Regions from separate parts of the Homo sapiens genome. Here region 2 is linked to region 1. The links are contacts of gene promoters, found by promoter capture Hi-C in human tissues and cell types (Jung and others, 2019). All regions are on one chromosome and are shown on one strand. The core of a region is centred on a gene start or on the middle of the fragment in contact, and the rest is flanking DNA. Distances in the headings are between cores, read along the strand shown. Region 1 holds the start of FBXL17 (F-box and leucine rich repeat protein 17). Region 2 overlaps MAN2A1 (mannosidase alpha class 2A member 1).

The links. Contacts are between HindIII fragments. The study calls those that stand out against the background at their distance.
Region 2: a contact is called between a fragment that was not itself captured here and the fragment with the promoter of FBXL17 in region 1, in 1 of the 25 tissues and cell types used here (lymphoblastoid cells).

The regions. Positions count from the first base shown.
Region 1 is chr5:108,378,789-108,384,939 of GRCh38, forward strand. It overlaps FBXL17 (F-box and leucine rich repeat protein 17), which reads right to left and starts at 3,310. Exons shown (of 9, transcript NM_001163315.3): 1 at 1,911-3,310. The coding sequence starts at 2,903. RefSeq lists silencers at 2,161-2,240, 2,261-3,010, 3,211-3,460 and an enhancer at 3,561-3,680. The HindIII fragment of the contact is 17,757 bases long and covers 1-6,151 here.
Region 2 is chr5:109,740,220-109,746,370 of GRCh38, forward strand. The region is part of intron 4 of MAN2A1 (mannosidase alpha class 2A member 1); the gene reads left to right. Among named protein-coding and RNA genes, the nearest start is that of MAN2A1-DT, 52 kb to the left of the region's middle. The HindIII fragment of the contact is 6,334 bases long and covers 184-6,151 here.

The DNA of each region.
Region 1 (6,151 bases), core at 2,060-4,559:
AAGGAGGAGACAGAGCAATGAACAAGATTACGAATCCAGAGTCGCTGCACCCAAAAACTGGGGTTGGCAGACACTGAACAATCGCTAATTCAATTCATCCCAGACAGTACAGCTCACTTCGTGCTGAATACCACTAGGACCATCAGACTCAGACAGAGAATCTTTATTAGAATTTTCTAATACAAGGAATGGAAATCTACATAACATGTCCAAATACACACAATAGGGCAAGCCCATGGTAATTCCCATATGTCCTTTAGACAAAGTTTTCAACAATCCTCAGGAAAAAATATGAAAGAGAACAACGCGGTATAGGATAAGTTTATTTTATTCTATTAGAGTTTCTCTTTATTATGAGATCATGTCCCTTTTTTTTCTCGGCATTAAAATGTTTTTTACCTCATGAAATAATTTGTAAGTAGAAGGTACCTGGCTTTGTTTTGGTTCATTTTGAAACAGTCTTATTTGCCAAATAAGAAGACAGCAATCAAGTTTCTATACCAAATATTTGTTGATATTTTATTTATCCATATCACCCAGTGATTTAAAGGACTCAAGAAAGTTCCCTTTGTCCTAAAATGCACCTCTGCACACAAAGAGTAGGCAATTACTCTTCCAACAAGTAGACCTCCATAAGAATTAGATCATTACATTTTGACACAAGGAAATGTAAGTTTTCCCACCCTCTTGCTGTATCACTCACAAGAACAATAATATCACTGTAAAACAGACCCAAACACACAGTACTGTAAATATGCAAAAAGTCTAGTCAAAGAAACTATATTGGTGACAATAACAATTGTAATTAATGACAGTTACTTCAGTAACGGTAAAAGTAGCCAAATTCTTATCAAGGTTATTTATGGCTAGTCTCTAGTATCATCCACAATGAAAATGGTTTATATTTATTAAGCTCCAAATAGGGTAGGGTGGGAGAAGAGAGAAAAGGAGGGAAAAAGTTAATAATAACTTAATAAAAACTCTATTATGTAACTAAAGTTTGTCACTAGCATTGACAAAACTGCAAAATATTCTTGGTAGTTGAAAATGACACAAACTTCATGCAGGACACCCATCTCCCAACAAAAAATACATCTGTGCTTACCTCTGGTAATCTGTATGCTTTTATGCAAGGGTTAAAATGTAGAAGGGCATTACAACATAGCATAAACAAAGAGGTTTTTAAGTCAGGTGGTCTTAAATTCCCTCATTCAAGACCTAGATCTACCCTTTACTTTCTGTATGTGACCTTGCACAAGTCATTCAACCACTTCAAGCCCCACTAGACTGTCAGCTCCACAGGAGCAAAGACCACTTCTGCCTGACTCACTACTATAAACCGTGGCCCACAGCACGGAGAAATCAGTTTCTTCCTGTATAAAATAAAGATATTAACAGTATTTATCTCGAAGCGTTAACTAGATAAATGGGATATTATATATATAAAGTCTGGCGCAGTGCCTGATTATGGTAAATGCTCAGTAAGTTAACCGTTTGACATTAACTACCAGCCATCAAACATGAAAGTAATGTTTAAAGACTTTCAAACACCAACATGCAAAGCCTTTACCCACTAAGTATAAATTCCTCGATTAAAAAATTTTTTTTTCCACAGAATACCTGCGAAGTTTCTAAACCACTGGGTTGGGATTCTAATAATAGCTGAACCCTGAATGGTGGGTTATAGAGTCAAGCTATTAAAAGACATTCAGTAGACTCCAAGTGCTCCTACTTCAAAAAATAGGCCATAGGCAGAGGCCCCACTGGCTTCCCAGTCTCCCCTTGGGACGTCCCTAGGCTGCCAGGGAACCCCCCTCCTCCGCGCTTAGGGGGAGGAGAGAGAAAGCCTCGGAGGCGGGGGCCGGGGGTGGGGGAAAGCGAGCATCCCTGCGCCTCTCGCCCAGACCCACCTTGAGCAGGATGGACGGCGGCAGCTGGTTGATGTCTGGGGTTTCGGGGGGCGGCTCCCTGTGACAGTCGCAGGGGTTTTCGGGGGACTCCCGACAGTCCGCGTCGCCACATTCATGCTGCTGCTGGGCGGACAAGGGGGCGGTGCCCCCGGCTCGGACAGCGTCCCCGCCAGCTTCGGTGGGGGCACCTTCGGAGGTGGGAGAAGAGGGCGGAGGGCAGAGCGGCTGCGGGGGCTGCTCCGGGGCCTGGCAGCAGCCGGCGTCGGGGGGCCGGGGCGGCGAAGCGCCTCCCCCCGCAGGCCCTCCCCCGCCACCGCCGCCGCCGCCGCCGCCGCAGCCCCCGCCGCCGCAGCGGGGCTGCTTGCAGGGGGTGCAGGCGGGGACCCCGGCCCCCTTCCGCTTGCACACCATTTCGGGGGGCGTAGGGAGCTCGGCCGGTGACGGTGTCGGCCCCCGGAAGAGCTGCACGGCGGCGGGCGGCCCCAGGAAGCGCACCGGCCCCAAGCTGGCCAGGAAGAGACTTCGGCCCTGCTGCTCCCAGGCGGCGGCCGCAGCCAGCCCCAACTCTTTGCAGCAGGAGGCGGGCGACGAAGCCGAGGCGGCAGCGGCGGCGGCGGCGGCGGCCGAGGATAGCAGGAAGCGGCGGGCAGCAGCGGCGCAGTCCTCGGCGGCCAGGGCCGCGTAGCGCCGCGCCAGGTGCTGAGAGGAGGAGGCGGCAGCGTAGGCCCCGTCCCGCGGCGGCGGCGAGAGCGGCGGCTCCTCCTCTGGGCCGGCGGGGGCGGGCGCGCCGGGACTGTGCACGATGAAGCAGAGCATGCAGGGCCCGCGGAAGAAGCAGTCCCGGCTCCGGGGCGCCGCCGGCTGAGGGGGCACCTTGGCTGGGGTCCGGCGGGGCAGCCTGAGGAGAGGGCGCCGGCGGCGGCACCAACTGCAACAGCGAGGCCTCTTCTGGCTCGGGCGGTTACGCGGCTCCTTCGAGAGAAGGTGGCCCATATAGAAGGCCCCGAGGAGGGGGACCGGGACGGGAGGGAGGGAGACCCAGAGAGGCGGGCTCCCGGCAGCGGGGCAGGCCGCTCGCTGGCTCGGCCCCCGGAGGGGTCGCCCTTCCTGCGCACACACACGCACACACGGGCACACACGCGACGGTGGGGGGTGGGCGTCAGCTGCGGGCCGCCGGAGTGCCCGACGGGGGCTACATGCTTTGCCCAGGGAAGCCGGGAGAACGATGGGCGCGAGCTTTGGGGACGCGAGGGAGGGAGCGAGCGAGCCTGCCGGCTAGGCGACCAGTCCGGGCCCGGCCAGCCGGCTCAGTCAGTCAGCGGAGCGGCCGGGGAAAGGCCGGGTCCCGCTCGGACCATTTTAACTGCGGATCCGCCGCCGGCGCGCGCACCCGCGACTCTGCTCGGAGCCGCAGGAGCGCGCGGCCCGTTCCGGCAGGGGGCGGAGCCAGTTGCGGTGGCGCGCTCGTGGCGGGGACGCCGGCACCCGGCTGCTCACCCGGGACGGCCGTCACACCGGCACTACGGGAAGAAGCCGGCCGGCTAGGGCACGGAGCTCTGGGCTTGCGGGGTGCGGCGCACGCCCCTCCCTCCCACCGCCTAAGGTTTTTCCGAAGCTGCTGGGCGTGCGCCGCGTTTCTGAGGCGGGAGGAGACACTTCCGAGCCAGCTGTGTGACATCCGTTTACACAGCCGCGCTGACGTCTCGAGGTGTAAGTTCAAGAGCTGCCATTGGCCGGGAGCCGCTGGGCTCTTCCCCTCACCTTCCACCCCTGTCACCACCCCTGACTCGGAAACCGAGGCCACTTCGAAGCCGCGAGGCGGGTTCCGCCGGAAGGGCCAGTGTGGGCGCTGACCGCGCTTCGGGCAGAGTGGCAGATGCGGCCCCTGGGTGATGCGCACCGAAGTCATGTGAGGGGTTGATTGGTTGTGCGGCACCACTGTTTACCCACTTGTGTTTTCTTAATTGTTGCGTACTACTGCCTTTCCACAACTTTATTTCAGAATGAAAGCATATATCAAATTACCTGTGCACAGCAGAAAGATAACAGCTTCCCCACCCAGTGAGCCATTCAACACCCAGGCTACAAACTGTAGATCACTTTATTGTCTACACCCTCGGAATCCTGTCTAGCCGTCTGTTGTATATTTTAAACATGACGGTGCAGTGCCTGCTATATGACAAACGTTGGTGATCCAGATGAGAAAGAGGAAACAGCTATGCAGGCAGTCCTTTAGAAGGTTTGACTATATCGAGGCTAAAGAGCTAGGGCAGCTGCTAGAGCGGTACCTGGTGCGGAGAGGTTAGCTTTCACAAGCGAAAAATTAGAGGAGGCAAATACCATGGGAATGAGCCACTCTAGTGAGAGAAATAAGAGGAGAAGGTGGAATGGAGAGTGCTTTAGGAAGGATACTTTCTTCATTGTGATTACAGAGAATGAGGAAAGGTAGATAAAGGACGGATACAGAGAGGTGGATGTTTCTAGCAGGAAGGTGAAAGAGTTCCTTTCTGTTGGTTTCTGTTTTGCTTCAGATAGAGCTTGGTTACCTGCTGAAGGGTGGAAGAGAAGTGGCAGGTGTTTAAAAAAAAATCTGCTAAGGATAACTTGAGAGAGCTGACTGAGGAAGAAGTATTGCAATATTCAAGGCCCAGTGGCTTGGAGAAGACCACTGTTGGAACCTACATTGCTATTCCCACTATAGTGGCCAGCCCCACCCAGCCTGCTCTCAAACATGCTGTCAAACAATTGTTAATTCTGGCCTTTTTGTCAGAAATGACCAATCTTAAGTCTGTCACATTCAGGGATCCTTTCAGAGCCTAATGACAGTTATGTGGAATTCTAGAAGCAAATATTTGTCAAAAGATTTCACAGACATACACGCTATTCACTATCAAATGCATTGCCTGAACGACATTTACGTACACATATAATCCACATAACTTTCATCCATTTGCCTGTAGGAGAATCTTCCAGGGCCCCAGAGCAGTGCTTGAGGACTTATTACAGATCCTTTGACATCTCTACTAGGCTGCACTTTCACAAAAGGCAAGAGTATTATAAAGTGTTTTGTAACTTTATGTCAAAAATATGAACCTGTCAGAGCCAGATGTGGTGGTACCTATCATTCAAACTACAACAGGGCTGGTGAGGCGTGAGGATCGCTTAAGCCCAGCTTGTTATGATTATGCATGTGAATAGCCACCGTAGTCCATCTTGAGCAGCGTAGCGAAACACAGTCTCTTAAAAAAAATTGCGACCTATACATTTCATATAAGTTAAATACACATCTTCCCTATGAGCCAGCAATCCCACATCTAGGTATTTATCCAGAGAAATAAAAGCATATATCGATAAAAAGACATGTACAAAAATGTCCGTAACAACTTTATTCATGGTCACCAAAAACTATAAACTGCCCAGATGTCCATCAGTGGGAGAACGGATTAATAAACTGATATATTCATCTAATTAAATACTACTCAGCAACACAAGAGAAAAAGCATGGATGAATCTCAAAAAGTTAGGATGTTTTATGCTTTCTGGATACGGGGCCCTCGAATCGCTACCTGGTAACAGGCTCCCTATGTGATTCCTGTACAGACAGCCTGGCACCATGCAAATGTATCAGAACTACACATACCATCCAACTTCAACTTCTTGTTTTTAGAGATGAAGCAACTGACTCTGAGAGTTCTGAAGTCGTTGCTAAAATTTACAATATTTGTTTCCTTACTCCCAGTTCCTAAACCATTCAACCACAAGCAAATTGTCTTTGGTCTACCTATTGGACTCTGTGCTGACAAAAGATACTTGTTTTTTTATAATTTAGATATTTTGCATGTCTGTTCTCATCACCCACCATCATCACACCACTAGTTCTCCCCAGAAAAAATTTCAGATTCTTTGAGGCTTAGGATTATCTCTAACCCTTCTTTTTATTTCTTTACCACAGCAAATAGCAGAGAGAGTCTTGTATAGTTCATCAGTGATTAAATAAGCTACTACTATTATCAGGAGAGCTGTAATGAGTTTTGGAACTCAGTACCCTAAATAATAATACTAATGTTGTAAATGTTAAAGATACAGAATTATGAATAAGAGTCATAAATTAGAATTATAGAGACAGTTGTAGCAGCTGATGGCTTTGCTAGTTGGGGGGCAGAGAGGGTGGAGTTGCAGTGGAAACCAACTCCGGACAGCCAGGAGCTGGACTGGCACTATTAGCTAGGCATTTGTGGTAC
Region 2 (6,151 bases), core at 2,101-4,600, 1.4 Mb after region 1:
TATGAGAATCAGGGATCAGCAGTTGGGGAAGGTGTCCTGGTTGTAAATAGGACAGAGTGAGAGAAGAGAGGAGCTGGGGCTATGAGAAGATCTGGAAAAGGAGTGCCCCATCTATGAAAGGTTTTCTGTTTCTTTGGTGTAGCTGCTGAGCCTGGGGCTGGCTTTCTCCCTCTAGCTTTGTTTTTGTGTGGCCTGTAAGCCAGGTAGGAGATGTGTGTCTGAATGTGCTGCTTCACAGAGTCCAGCCACCTCAGAAGGAAACTGGGTCTGCTGCTGGCTGCTTGTGGTCAGGTGAGGCCAGCCATGCTTGGCTCTCTCCCAGCATGGCTTCATTAAGGAGACTGCCTCTGCAGCAGTCACAGTGCATGGGCAGAGAGACTTCTGCAGAGGGGGACTCACACAAGTGCCATGAGGGCGAAGAGTCTGTGATTAGTATCTGTCCCAAGACTCAGCTTTGCCTCAGCCCTTGGCCCTTCAGTTTAGGAGCTGTTGACCGAATCTCTCAGAATCTTCTTATTTATGCTGGGATTCCATGCTGATTTTTCATGCAGGGCAGTTGCAGGTCAGTACTTGAATTATTTCAGTTTTACTTTTACCATATCTGTCAGAAATGCTGCCAATTTTATGGCCTGCGGATGGCCTGTTTCTCCTGACTCTACCTGGATGCAAATTTTCCTCCCCTCTCTCTTTTTTTTATTCTGTTGGTTATTTTTCTTAGGTTGAACCATATAAAATTGCCAATATTTGACTACTTTTGATATACAAAAATGGCAATTTCATGCATCAGTCCAATATTACACATAAAATATGGTAAGATATTGGAGGGGACTGCAGATTAGAATCTAGTGCTCAATCTTTGTCTCACTCAGATTTGTCTCACTCAGATTCCTTCTGAGTGAGAACAGCTTTTTTGGCATTGGAAAATATTCTGGAATACAGGCTTGATCGTGAACAGTATCATTTTGCTTGAAGGAAAAATGGTTTTATAGCCAGATTAGTGCAGATGAATTCTGTTTCTGGTCAAGATTTGCTAAAGTTCTCTCTCTTCTAGCTGTAATAATTCACTTTTATTCACTTATTACATTTGTTTTTAGAACTAGGGTAATAGCATTCCCCCCCACTTACTTGAACAAAACATTCTTAGTGTTAGTTGCTTAAATGTATGTTTTTGGAGGAAAACTTAATAGATATTTAAGTTTGCTCCTGTTATTTAAATTCTGAGCTTGTACTAAGTGGCATTACTAATAGATTTTTTTGTGTGACTTCTAGTGTAATGCTTATGCAGTGGCTTTTCTCTTTTTGAAGATGAGCTATGGATTAAATCTGTACCTAAATTTGCAAGCTAGCTGTTGCAGAGCAGAACCTGTTAATTCCAGCAGAGTTCCACGTAAGCTTTCATTGTCCCTGAAGAATACCAATTGATTGTGGGAACTTAACAGAAACAAAACTCAAATGATCCTTATAATCTATTCTAGCAGTGACTTGTTTGATTCTTATCCCCTCCCCCAGCAGCATTATTATTCAACTCTATAAGCTTTTAAAAGTGAAAATCTAGTTAACTAAAGAGAGATCTACGTAAACAACATCTATATTTTCTGTTTTTTTGTGTGATCTGAAATAATTTAATCAATTATAATCATAGTACCTACTGGTAATACATATCCAGTGGATTTAAAAGAAGCTGCCTTCCATTAAATAATCAGTGTATTGTTTTCTATGCTTGTTTTATTTTGAAAATGACTGGTGGTGTAATTTTTTAAAACTTTTTAGGCTTCACATTTGAATATTTTTTGGCTAAATGCAGTTAAATACTGCATGATGTTTATAATACATCAAAATGTGAACCCTTATTGAGAGTCAGGCAGCTGAAACATTAGCCTTAGCATTTCCTTTGACTAGCACACAGCATGTTACATATTCATTGTTCCTCTCTGGGCTCTGAGATATTGGAACAGCTTTTATATTGCATCTGCTCTTGCTATTGAGACCAGTGTTGAGTGGAGAAACCCACGAATTATTAGAACCTAAGAACAGTTTATATATTCACCAAAGTCTTGACCAGTTTCTCTTTGTGGATCTTTTAGTGTGAAAAGGGGCTCCAAATGTGTGCTGAGATGAAGGTACCATCAGTTAGTATAGATTTTTTATCTTCACCAAATTGGTGGGTTTCATTGCTTTAGCAAGAATGCAAACTCTTTATTTATATAATCTTTGTACTATCTTCTTACAATTTTTCCCCTAGGTTTATATTTAAGTGAACCTTCCACTGTCTTCTCAACTATCTCTGCTTGCTTCTTGAAATCAGAGAAATATTTGATGTTACATTTTTAAATAAGAATCCAAACTTAACTAATGTGCATCTTGGGTTTTCTAAGAAATTGGACTATTAATCTTCCTAAACAGACTAATTCATTATACGTTTTATACAGGTTGGATTTTATGGTATTTAACTGAAGGTTGCTGTAAAATTTATAGAGCAATGGGAAGTTACAGTGTGTCTTGTGATATTCAGAGTCATTTGCAGATTTGGATTGAGTTTAGAATCTAAAGATATTTAGCATTTCATCAAAGCACTGAAAGCAATGCACCAGGGTCTAAAATAACTTTAGTTCTAATAGTTGAAGCAGTGGTTTACGTTTATTTTAGAAAGCATATGTTCTATCCCTACCTTTTCAATTCCAGTTCGTCTTGAGTGAGACGGCTATCCTTCCACCTCTCATTCCCTTCAACCACTGGCATCTATTTATGTCATGGAGACCTGTAAAAGCCATGAGGGACTTCTCAGGTGCTCTGCCCATCCCTTGGATACTTTCTCAAGCCTCAGAGAGGATTTTTTTGCAGCATTGACATCGATCACTCCATTCTCCTCGAAATTCTGTCCTCTTTTGGCTTTGAAGTGACCTTGAGCTCTTTCACTTTCGGGTCTATTCTGGCACTGCTGACCATTCATTTTTCATCACCTCTCTGATTTCCTCTTCTGCTTACTTCCCCAATGTTCCTGTTCTCGCCTGTTGGGGAACACTGCTTAGTTTTCTTCATTTTGCATGCTTTTCCACACTGTTGTTTTAATTACCAGGCATTTGGACTACTTCCAGATCTAAAGATCCAACCTGGACTTCTTGTTCTCTAGTTAGTGGCAATAGTAAGAGATAAGCACTCGTTTAATTATTCAGCCAATCCTGTAGCATTCTCTTGAGTTAAGGTTCTTTATCATCTTCATTCTCCTGTTGAGGAATCTGAAGCAGAGGTGTTAAGGAAAGTGCCTAAGGTCACCCAGCTAGTAAGTGTGGAAATAGGACCCAAGCCAGGCAGTCTTGCCCCAGAAATAGTGGGCAAATAATCTTCACCTCTGTGGTGCTCTGCCTTTCCACCTCCCTTTCCTGTGACATCCAGTTAGTCCCTAAACTCTGTGACTTCTGCCTCTTCAGTGTCTCCAGACTCTGACCCCTGCTTTTCGTCTCCATTGCTCTTGTCTCGTACTATTGTGAAAACCTCCAAATGGCCTTTCCATTTCCAGCTGTGCCACTTCTAAGTGTCTGCCATTTCATCAACAGAGTTAGTTTTCTAATATGTGAGTCCCACCATGTTTGCTTTAAAATGCTTTGTGGTGCTTCAGTCTCAAAAGGCACAGGCCACTATCCTTTGCCTGACACATACTGACTTTTTCTGTCTGATTCCTCCCGACTTGCTCATCCTTATCTCCAGTCACTTCCTGCTTCACACTCTACTCAGGCATTCTGAGCCACGGGTGTCCTCAGACACATGCCGTTTTGTGCTTCTTAGGAATTTGCCTGTGTTCAGCTTGGATTTTTATTTTTTTCCTTTTGTGCAGTGGATAATTTCAGTCTTACTCATTTTTAACACTCAGCTGAAATATTACCTCATCTCTGAAACCTTCCCTTATTTACTTCTACCATTCATTCAGCAAATATTTATTGTGTTATGCTCCAGAAATGTAGGAGGTAAGCAAGACTGACCTGGTCCCAGCCCTCAGAAAACAGCAGGGAAGACATGTAATTAAACACAGTATAATAATAAAGGGTTTTCTTCTATAGAGGCAAGAAGGGGGTCTTGGAAGGCCTCCTGAAGCAAATGATATTCAAGCTTAAACCTGAATGATGACTAGAACTAGCCAGTCAAGAAGTGGGTGTCAGAGGGCAGAGAAGGAATTTTAGGTTGTGAGAAGAGAATGGTGATTATGGGCCAGGGATTAACAAGGGCATGTTTGAACATCTGAAAGATGTTTATTAGACAGCAGCAGTTGGGGAGGGTGGGCAGCGAGGGTGTGTGTGTAGAAGCTGGGTAAATCTTGGCCATCAGGGAGATACATATCAAAACTTCTAGAAGATACTGTTTCCAACCCTTTTAGAATGGCTAAAATAAAAAAGATGACAACGTCAAAAGTTGGCAAGAATGTGTAGCAACAGAAACTCATATGTTGCGGGTGGGAATGCAAAATGGGGGCGACTTTCTGAAAAGCCTCCAAAGAGTTTTCCAAACTTAAAATATATACCATGTGATCTGGGGGCTCCACTCCTAGCAATTTACCCAAGAGAAATGAAAAAATGTTCACAAAAAGACTTGTACAGACATTTTCATACAGGCTTTTTCCTAGTAACTTCAAACTGCAAGCAGTTTAAATGTCCTTCAGCAGGTGATGGATTAAAAAATTGTTGTATATTCATACAACAGAATACCTAGCAGTAAAAAAATGATAAATTACTGAAATACACAGTAATATGGATGAGTCTCACAAATGTTCAGCAGAAGAAGAGAGACAGAAGAGTAAATATTGTTTGATTTCCATTTTATGAATTCTGAGAGGAGACTCAACTGATCTATTGTGATAGAAATGGAATGTCAGAGTGTTTTTTGGGGGCAGGGTGAGTGGGCGAGCATGGATTGGAACGGGGCATGAGGGAACTCTCTGAATTGGTGGAAGTAGTCTATATTATTTTGGATAGTGATTACAGTTGTCACAATTCATGAGACTGAAAATATGTGTATTGTATATTGTTATATCTCAATTAAAATATTTTAGAAAATGTAATACAATATAAACATACAATACAATAAATACAATAATATAATACAATACAGTAAACATAATGATATATGTCTCTCTTGATATGGAAAGATGCTCATGGTATAATGTTAAGTAAATTAACTTGGTTAAAAACTCTGGCTCCCATAACCCTTTGTGCATATATATCAAGGTAGTGAGTTTTTAAATTTTATTCTTTAACGTCTTTCACATTTTTCAACTTATTTTGAATGAGTATTTTATGAATAAAGTATTGTTTACTATACAGTGAAAGATTTAAAGTACATCCCCTGCTTATTAAAACTTTGCAGAAATTATTGAACCATATGAGAAATTTATTTTTATTTCTATTAAATTAAATTAATTAATTAATTTTAGAGACAGGGTCTTTGTCACTCAGGCTGGAGTGCAGTGGTACTATCATAGCTCACTGCAACCTCAAACTCCGGGCTCAAGTGATACTCTACCTCAGACTCCTGAGTAGCTAGGATCTACAGGTGCAGGCCACCATGCCTAGCCAATTTTTATAATTTTGTAGAGATAGGTTTTACTATATTTCACAGGCTGGTCCTCAAACCCCTGGCCTGAGGTGATCCTCCTGCATTGGTCTCCCAAAGCACAGGGATTATAGGTGTGAGCCACTGCACTTGGTCCCAAGACATTTTTAAATAAATTTTCATGACTATTTTTAAGCTACAGTTCTGTTACTTTTTTTTGTTTGTTTTGTTTTGAGACAGATCTTTACTCTGTTGCCTAGGCTGAGTGCAGTATTGCAGTCTTGGCTCACTGCCACCTCTGCCTCCCAGGTTCAAGCAGTTCTCGTGCCTCAGCCTCCCGAGTAGCTGGGATTACAGGCATGTGCCGCCACACCCAGCTAATTTTTGTATTTTTTGTGGAGATGGGGTTTCGCCATGTTGGCCAGGCTGGTCTTGAACTCCTGACCTCAAGTGATCTGGCAGCCTTGGCTTCCCAAAGTGCTGAGATTACAGATGTGAACCACCGCGTCTGGCCTCAGTTTTGTTAGTTTTCAGTGCTTAGGAGACACAGGTTATAGCATTTATAGTTCAGAAAAAAATTTAGTTTAATTTACTTTTTAATATATGCCCC